Regions from separate parts of the Homo sapiens genome. Here region 2 is linked to region 1. Evidence: promoter capture Hi-C in 16 types of primary human blood cells and fetal thymus (Javierre and others, 2016). All regions are on one chromosome and are shown on one strand. Each heading gives the region's core, a stretch centred on a gene start or on the middle of the fragment in contact. The rest is flanking DNA. Distances are from core to core; before and after follow the strand shown. Region 1 holds the start of VAV3 (vav guanine nucleotide exchange factor 3). Region 2 overlaps VAV3 (vav guanine nucleotide exchange factor 3).

The links. Contacts are between HindIII fragments. The CHiCAGO score rates a contact against its expected background, and 5 or more counts as called.
Region 2: a contact is called between a fragment that was not itself captured here and the fragment with the promoter of VAV3 in region 1, in 6 of 17 cell types (total B cells, naive B cells, naive CD8 T cells and 3 more). The highest score is 7.0, in total B cells.

The regions. Positions count from the first base shown.
Region 1 is chr1:107,963,355-107,967,838 of GRCh38, forward strand. It overlaps VAV3 (vav guanine nucleotide exchange factor 3), which reads right to left and starts at 1,826. Exons shown (of 27, transcript NM_006113.5): 1 at 1,312-1,826. The coding sequence starts at 1,515. It overlaps VAV3-AS1 (VAV3 antisense RNA 1), which reads left to right and starts at 1,089. Exons shown (of 3, transcript NR_046653.1): 1 at 1,089-1,150. RefSeq lists enhancers at 837-966, 2,313-2,607, 2,543-2,612. The HindIII fragment of the contact is 4,630 bases long and covers 1,107-4,484 here.
Region 2 is chr1:107,761,326-107,765,872 of GRCh38, forward strand. It overlaps VAV3 (vav guanine nucleotide exchange factor 3), which reads right to left. Exons shown (of 27, transcript NM_006113.5): 9 at 3,751-3,850. Among named protein-coding and RNA genes, the nearest start is that of MIR7852, 130 kb to the right of the region's middle. The HindIII fragment of the contact is 8,943 bases long and covers 1-4,547 here.

The sequences.
Region 1 (4,484 bases), core at 576-3,075:
TCTGAAGGGGTACCGAGAGGTAGCAATCACCATGCATGTTTATGGGGGTATAAAATAATTTACCTCACTTTTAAATACGTATGGCTCTCCCCACTTCCATGCCTGTTCTTTCTTAGGGACTGCCCACCAGCAGGTTGAAGGCAAACAGGCAAGGAATGCAGAATCTGAAGTGCAGGGGACCCTGATGAAACACTGACACCAAGAATCACAGATGACTGTGTGTGCTCTAACTTTAAATACATACTTATTAAATCATATAAAGTCCGTTCCTTCTTAAAAGGCGCTGCTCTGGTTGCTAAGTAGCTGAGGCTCTGCGTCATAGAGGATTAGTGCTGAAATGTGTCAGGGAGAGGGCTCTGTCCTCTCCCTTTTAAGTTGAAAGCAGTTTGGTTTTTTGTTTTGTTTTAACATTCTGAAAGAGAAAGAGGCTCTGAACCGAGTTTAACATCCTTCTGTACAAAAATTTTCCGACAGGACAAATAAACTACTCTTCCACTGAACTGTGACTTTTGAGCTGACTCTAGGGTGCACCCAACCTTCCAGAGGTGTCTGGCTTAACCCTCAAAGAGGCAGCTCCAGCCCCAGGAGCCGACCGGCACCACAGCACCTGAGCAGGGCACTGCAGGAAGGAAAGCGGAATCTCTAGTGAAACTTCTCATTTCCTGTCGCTGCTGAGAGAGGCTGGACTCGCTCCTTCTCACATGGCTTAGGAAGAGCTGTAAACGGGAGCTTGCCGGCTGGCCACCAGCTCAGGGGCCCTGGGGGCGGCCTCCGGGTTCTGCTCCCTGTTCTTCCCTTTGACCAATGTCACTCCTGGACAGATAACGGGACCAAACGCCCTTCACTTCCTCGAGTCCTCATGTATGTCATGGTTCCTCTTTTAGGAAAACATGAGTACAAGACGCAAAGCAAAAGAAGAGACTAAAGGCAAATTACCCCATCACCTCGTTTCGTCCCTCCCCTTCGTTATTATAGAAGAGCTTGATCAAATTCCCTTTGTCGCGCCACACACACGCAGAGTAGGTGAAGGGCACCCTAAGACAACTTATTTCTTTCCCGCCTCACAGAAAGCCTTTACGAAATCCTCACACCATCTCCGGACGCAAAGCTTTCGCATTCAGCTTGAGGAGCTAAACCATTTCAAGCCAAGGTAGGAAACGCCAAAGTGGTGCCGAAGTGGTCCCAAAGCAGAAGGCTGGGAAGCAGGGCAAGCTCAGCGCACCTAGACGTTTGCATTTACACAAAGAAATTAGCCGCATGATTAATGGGAGCTGCCGGCTGGAGGCGGGGCGCCCGTGCCGGCCTCCTCACCTGGGACATCTGCGGCCTCAGGTTGATCTCCTTCAGGTTGATGGAGTGCGCCCGGAGGTTGTTAAGCAGCTGGCAGAGCAGGACTCCATCGCGGAGGGTCTGCGCAAGGTCGAACACCTGAGCCGAGTCCCAGGTCACCCGGTGGTTGGTGGGCAGCACCTTGCAATGGATGAGCCACTGCGCGCACTGCTTCCACGGCTCCATGCCCGACGGCTCCGGGACGCGGCTGGGCCGGGGCGGGCGGCAAGGATGCGGCCGCCGCCGCCGCCGCCGCGGTTCCTCCGCGCCCCGCCGACGCCAACAGCCGCCGGCCCTTTCCCCGCGCGGGATCGAGGGAGCAGGAGCCGCGGCTGACGGGTCGCGGGCGCCGCGCTAGGCTCGGCTCCGGTCCCGGCCCGGGTGCGCCGCGACCCGGCCGCCGCTGCAGCGAGTCCCGCGCGCTCTCCGTGCGCCCCGGCCGGCTCGGCGGCGGCTGCCGCGCACAGGCTTCCGACTCCAGCGCCCGGCCCGCCACTGAGCATGCCCAGCACGCCGGCCGGTCTCGCTGCGGTCCGCAAGTCCCCAGACGCGCGGGTGGGAGCGCGCCGGCGGCCGGGGCTGGGGTCTGTGGCCGAGGGCGGGGCGCGGGGGAGGGGCCGGCGGAGGGGGGCGGCGGCCAGAAAGGGGATCCCGCGCCCCCGCCTGCAGCCTTGCGGGGCTCACGCAGCCCCCGGCGTCCTGGGGTCTTCTCTCGGGGCGGCTTCCCGGCTTTGCGGGGAGTGTGGCTGAATACTGTAATACGATGGGGTCCCCCAGGACCCCCTAAACAACAAATGCTCAAAGGAGCGACGGATTAATTGGGGCACCCAGACTCCCCAGAGCAATGAAAAAAGTGCCTAGAGCATCAGTAGAGCACGGCGCTGAAAGTTTTAGAGATCGTCGCCCCCTCGCCCCTTGCAGCTCTATCCCCTCCATTCTCTATAGCTGATTCCTCAGCCTATTCCTCCTAGTTGCCCCTAGTGGTGTTTTGGCACCCTCAAAGTGAGTGAGAGTGCGTGTGTGGAGACGCCTGCGGAAACCGCCCCGATCCCTGAGCCTATTTCCTCGCGAGGTGATTTTCACTTGGAGCTGGTTTGCCCCTGCACTGTCAGGCTCGGAACTGTTTGCCGTTGCTGTTCTGGCCCTTTTGCTGACCCCACAAAAACCTGCTTGAGAAAGGCCTGTGCCACGGTGCTAGACTGCGCATGCGTCGGCGACTGGCGGCCGGGTTTGAGAGCAAAGCGCGTTAGCCCTGGGCAGCTCCTGCCGGGCTGTTCTGGGATCCTTAGTGAAAGTTGGAACTTGACCCCAGAACTTTTGCGCAGTGCACAAGCAGTGCATTCGTGTTTCTTAAGTAAATCTTTTGGAGACTCTAAACCCTACCCCTTTTACTCCCACTGCACACTGCCCCTCAAAACCACAATTAATGTTTAAATTATTTGTGGCAAGATATTGCCACAGTGAATTATTGCTGTTCGATAGGAATGTGGTCCTTCGTCACCCTTTTGAGATGCATTCACTTAAAATTAGAAAATAGGCCGGGCGCGGTGGCTCACGCCTGTAATCCCAGCACTTTGGGAGGCCGAGGCGGGCGGATCACGAGGTCAGGAGATCGAGACCATCCTGGCTAACACGGTGAAAACCCGTCTCTACTAAAAATACAAAAAATTGGCCGGGCGTGGTGGCACGCACCTGTAGTCCCAGCTGCTCGGGAGGCTGAGGTAGGAGAATCGCTTGAACCCATGAGGCGGAGGTTGCGGTGAGCTGAGATCCAGCCACTGCACTCCAGCCTGGACGACAGAGCCAGACTCTGTCTCAAAAAACAAACAAACAAACAAACAAAAAGATGGGAGTTTGGATAATTTAATTGTATTATATTTCTGTAGCCCAAATTTTTTATTACGAACCATGCTTTATAAGCAGGCCAAAATATTATTTTTAAAAGAATGATCTGTTCAGGATAGTGATTGCGTCCTTTTTCGTTTGGCTGTGACAAGGATAGCACACTGTTTACACTCAGCGCTGAACAATAAATCAGCCTGAGGATTTCCTTTCCTCACACGCATCCTTCCCTAGCAATTTCCTCTTGTGTTCAATGCGGATTCCATCAATAGCACGACATTTTCTAGGCCATAATTTTGGCAAATAAATCATACTAATCTCTACATACCTTTAGAAGCAAAATCCAACACATTTGAATCACCATTTAACACAGTCTTTCATAAAGAGAAATTAAAAAGAAATTTCATTAAACGGGTCAAAATTTAAACTAAAACTATGAATTTTTTTCAGGTAGCATCAGATCACCTTTGGATGTTGGAGAATATTTCCAAAATCCACATTATATACACTATCCCAGGACGCAAATCTGGATTTAGAGCCCGAGCTGTACTGCTTTCTAGCAACATGACCTTGGATAAATTCTCTACAGTTCAGTTTCCATAGATACGAAATAAGAAATTTTTTTTTTTTTTTGTGGGGGGTGGACGGAGTCTCGCTCTGTCGCTCAGGCTGGAGTGCAGTGGCGCGATCTCAGCTCACTGCAAGCTCCACTTCCCGGGTTCACGCCATTCTCCTACCTCAGCCTCCCAAGTAGCTAGGACTACAGGCGCCGGCCGCCACGCCCGGCTAATTTTTTTTGTATTTTTAGTACAGACAGGGTTTCACCGTGTTAGCCAGAATGGTCTAGATCTTCTGACCTCGTGATCCGCCCGCCTCGGCCTCCCAAAATGCTAGGATTACAGGCGTTAGCCGCCGTGCCTGGCCATAAGAAGTAATTTCTAACTAATAGGGTTGTTGTCAGGATCAAATGGTACAATGTCTTGCTATTCAAAATGCAGCCTGTGGACAGCAGCATCACCCTTGAACTTGTCAGCACTGTAGACGTTTGGCCTCTACTCTCATACTGAATGAACCAGAACCTGAATTTTAAGATCTCCATATCCCATGTATTTCCATCAAAAGCCAAGAAGCACTGATACAATGCATAGAATGTGTGGTGCCTGATAATTAGAGCTCAATAAATATTACCCAATAGTAGCCACTTTTCATTAACAAGTGGCAACAACGACCAAATATTCTATTTCACTTCTCTGTATATAATATATGACTTCAAAACATAATGCTTCTCAAATATAGTAAACCACAGAGTTGAT
Region 2 (4,547 bases), core at 629-3,128, 200 kb before region 1:
GAGCTTGCAGTGAGCTGAGATGGTGTCACTGCACTCCAGCCTGGGTGACAGAGTGAGACTCCGTCTCAAAAAAAAAAAAAAAAAGAAAAAAGAAAAAGAAAATTATTTTCTCTAGTGCAAAATCATGGCCCCCCAGGGTCTTCTTCAGTTTATCTTTATCGCTGTACTTCCCACCAATTTCCCCCAGTGGACTTATAGAACAGGCATCAAGAACACATCCCTACTCATCAAAAGTGTCAATAGTCTTCCCACCCTCAACTATGGTTTATTCAGTTCCCTCAACTATGATGTGCTTTGTCCAGCCTCCAGCAAAATACATCTTCCTGTTTAAGAACTACAATCCTAGGCCTTTCGTAACAATTACAATCACAATTGGGTGTACTCTCTCTCTGTCTTGTGGGTCTTTTAATTATTATCATATGTAATATCTACTCCAATATGATTTGTGCTGTATGCCCCTAAGAATGTAGTATTTGCTTAATAAGTATTTACTGAACTGAATGAAATGGAATATTTGACTTTAAAACTTTGCTCAAGTATAAACCTACTACTAAACTCCAAGATTTAGAAGCCTTGGATTGTATTTAATTTCACCCTCTTCTTTCCTAAAGGTTTATTTTAAAATAGTATTGACTGGTTTGTTCTTTTGATAATAATTATGACTTTGAGTAAATTACTTTGAAGTGTCAAAGAATGAACTTAAAGCCAAGATTTGGCAACTGTTGGCGGTGTGACCTTGGACAAGTCACTTTTCTGATTTTACTGTTTCTCACGTAACTATGGTGTTCTTCAAAAAAAAAAAAAAAAAGGGCCATACAAATATTATTATTAGTGAGCAACCTCATAAGTCCAAAATCCTGACACAATTGCACATCCCAGCACAAGGACCTTTCCAGTTCATAGACGGAGTTGTGCTTAAGAAAATACACTGTTGCTCACAAGTTTGTTTCTTCTTTGCCCACACTTAGTTTTTCTGGCACATGGAATGATATATTATGAGGAGCTCCAAAAAAACACCATTAACTCTAATGATCCGTGACTTAATGAGTATGTCTGTCTACAGCTATCAGTCAAAATGAATTGGGGACACATCCTGACATGCTAGCTGTGTCATCAATTACTGCAGTTCATTAGAAGGATAACTATTTCAACCAGTTTCTTACTTCTACAGATTGTAGAGAGCTCTGGATCATGGGTCTCAAACAGAAAGTTACATTGTTAATATTACTATAATTAGTAGGTCTTATCTCCTCTGCTGCATTTTAAGGCCCTTGGAATTAAGGTTGTAGCTTATATTTCTTATGTTATGCCATCCCAACACAGTGGTAGGAACAGAAATATTATATATTTAAAATTCACTATATTATGGAAATTAGTTTCAAAATGTTGAAGAAAAAAAGTCAGTTCCTTTACATTCTAAGTTACAGGCTCAGGAAGTAAAGAAACCAACATTGCTGGAATTAGCTACACCTGGGAGATAGAGACTCAAATGTAAAATGCTTATTCGTGTTGAAAGTAAATAATGGGTAGAAAGAATCCTTCCAAAACATCCAGTCACTTGCTTAGCCTCAATTCAATTGTAATGGAAAATAAAATGAGGTAGGATGAGCCAGGCTGATAGGGCAAGATAAAGAGATTCATCGCCCTTCACCCCATGTTATCTTGGTTCCAAAGTAGAGAAGAAAAAGACAAAAAACTCAACAAGAACAAAAATAACCACAAAACAGAAGACACAAAGAAGGCAGAAAGACACCAAGAATAAGGTAGTTTTCCTTCTATCATGCTGGGGCTTGCGGCACGCAGCTCCCACTGAGTATTTGTTGAAGTGTTACACTAAGTATCCGACTTAATACTTCCAAATCAGGACTATGGTTAGAAGTGTGGGCTTTTAAGCTGAAGAAAGGACAGCAGGGGCACCTCACCCTGTGCCTTTCAAACTCAGCCTGATGTCCTCTCTTTCCCTAAGTCGAGCATTGACTGCAAAAACTACATACTTAGAGTCCCAGAGTATGGTCATTGGGCAAAACTTTGACAATAACTCTGAAAGAAGGAAGAACAACACTCAAACAAGACTGAGAATATAATGGAGGTGTGATTGACAACTTGCTGACTACTATCTGGGAGCACAATTTTATATCTTTATTTTAAGAAAAACTGCTTTAATGTTGCCCTACTAGGAAGTAGGTGTATAAGTTGTAAAATTTAATTTTATCATCATATTTTGAGTCACAGTGGCTCCCAGCTCTACACTTAGGAGGCTCTATTCTGCAAAGAGGAGCAGGAAGTCTTTGCACTAACAATGTTACAAGGATGTTATTTAGGGGTGACTCAAACTACCTCCAGTCTTAAAGTCAACATAATGAAGGAATATTAAGATATAAAGCAAAAAGATCACGTATCTAGTACAGTTACTTGGTGGCCTGTTAACGTGCAAACTGTCTAAGCAATAGTTTCCCTTTGTGGGAGTTGTGAGCTATGAAATCATGCCAGAGAGGCAAAACAGTGAAGGGCTTCTGATTTGAAAATCACCTGCCCCTTCTCCCCTGACCTCAGTGCTACACTGAACAAAGAAAAGGAAAAGGGATATTAAACAGGCAAATAAGCCACACGCTGTTAAATTTAAGAGCTGGCTATATATCTCTACCTGAAATTTAATAAAATTCAAAATACATGGATAATACAGTGACTGATACAACAAACATTGTTCAAAAGTTCTTTGAAAGCATGAAGTCCTCGAACTCCTCTTCAGGAAAAAAAAAAACAAAAAACAAAAAACAAAACAAAAAAAAAAACATGATGTACAAAAAAACACGACTTAACCTAGGTTTCTAGACTTATATACTGTTGTGATCATGCACTCTGTTTATATCGGCCTACGTGCCACCTCTCAAACTTTCCCAACTGTTCTGGTCAATACATACCAATTGTTCAGGAATGCTCTCCATAGAATCTCATCTGTCAAAGCTCATCCCATTCTTTGGTGACCTAACTCAAATGCGCCTCTTCAGATGAATCCTCTACAATCTACCCACACTGAAGTGGGTAGATTCAGTCTTACAGAGCCCTATTATACAGTGCTTATCACATGTTATTTAATCCTACCATATTTGTGTTCGTCTTCTCTTCCTTCCTGTGGGCAATATGCATGGCCTTTTAATACATCTGATTCTAAATGTCATATTTTTAGTAAACATCTTTTTTATTTTGTTTTTGATACAGGGTCTTGCTTTGCCACCCTGGCTGGAGTGCAATGGTGCAACCATAGCTCACTGCAGCTTCAAACTCTCGGGCTCAAGTGCATACTCCTTGGCCTCAACTTCTCAGGTAGCTAGAACTACAGGCATGAGCCACCCTGCCCAGCTAACTAGTAAACATTTTAAATCTACATATACATTATCTAACGTATCTCACTCGTCCTGCACTTCTTACTATCTACGCAAGTTATTCATAATCTCTCTGAACTTCAGCTTTCTCATAAGATGAGAAAATTAATTGTACCTATTTCACAGAGTCAGAAGGACCTAATGAGATAATGCATGTAAAACACAGGGCCATAAATGTTAGATTTTTAACGACTGTTACTATTACTACCATATTACTATTTTATAGAGCTGTTTAAATATTTTATAAAATTGACATGAAATTATATTTAAAATAATGGGAAATGTACTGCTTCACTGATCATAAAGAGGAACACATTGCTTTTAGGTTTATTTTGCTTTATGTCATAAACTAAAAATAAATAGGCACCTCTAATTTCAGTTTGACATCTTCTTTTGTCTTAGAAATGTAGTCTAAACTAGAGATGGCTGACTCCACTCCACTGCAGTACTGCCCGTAAATAACCAATCTGAAAGGGAAAAAAGACAAGAAATCTCTAAGACAAAAACCAAGAATGAACTGGAGGGGGAAACAAGCAGAATCTTCATCTCTTTAAAACCATTGTTAGGGATAACCAAAATAGCAGTAGAAATTATTTTTAATACATACCACATACACAGTCATAGAATAAGGGTCACTCATTTTTATAGTAATGACTAATTTGTAGTTCCAACTTTGAATGAGATTAATTCTATGTAAATTTTTATAGCAGGCAGAATTTACAAACTGGCTTGATGACTGTTAATGTTATTTGAGTAGACATAAATGCATTCCAAAAACAAAATTAAAAATTTCTGTTAAAGCTCTTACAAGAGATAAACTTTGTCTCTAAACACTCAGAAAGTTTTCTCTATTACAATTTTATGCCAATCACTACATATAACTCCTTCATTATTAAACCTCTTACTCCTTGCTACTTTTTAATTAAGGAACATAAATCATCTGAAGAGAGGAAAACGAGAGACCTGAACTGTTCTGGACAGAAGATAACTCATATCACATGGAATCTGACCCACTTCAGGGAAGGTATCTCTGTAGCACAAATATTTTGCAAAGAGGTCAGTTGGTTTATTGCTTCTCTTAACTCTCCACTGGAAAAAAGACACTACTAATAAAATGTGAATATTTATCGAAGACTTGATGCAAAGTAATTCATTAGCCACTTC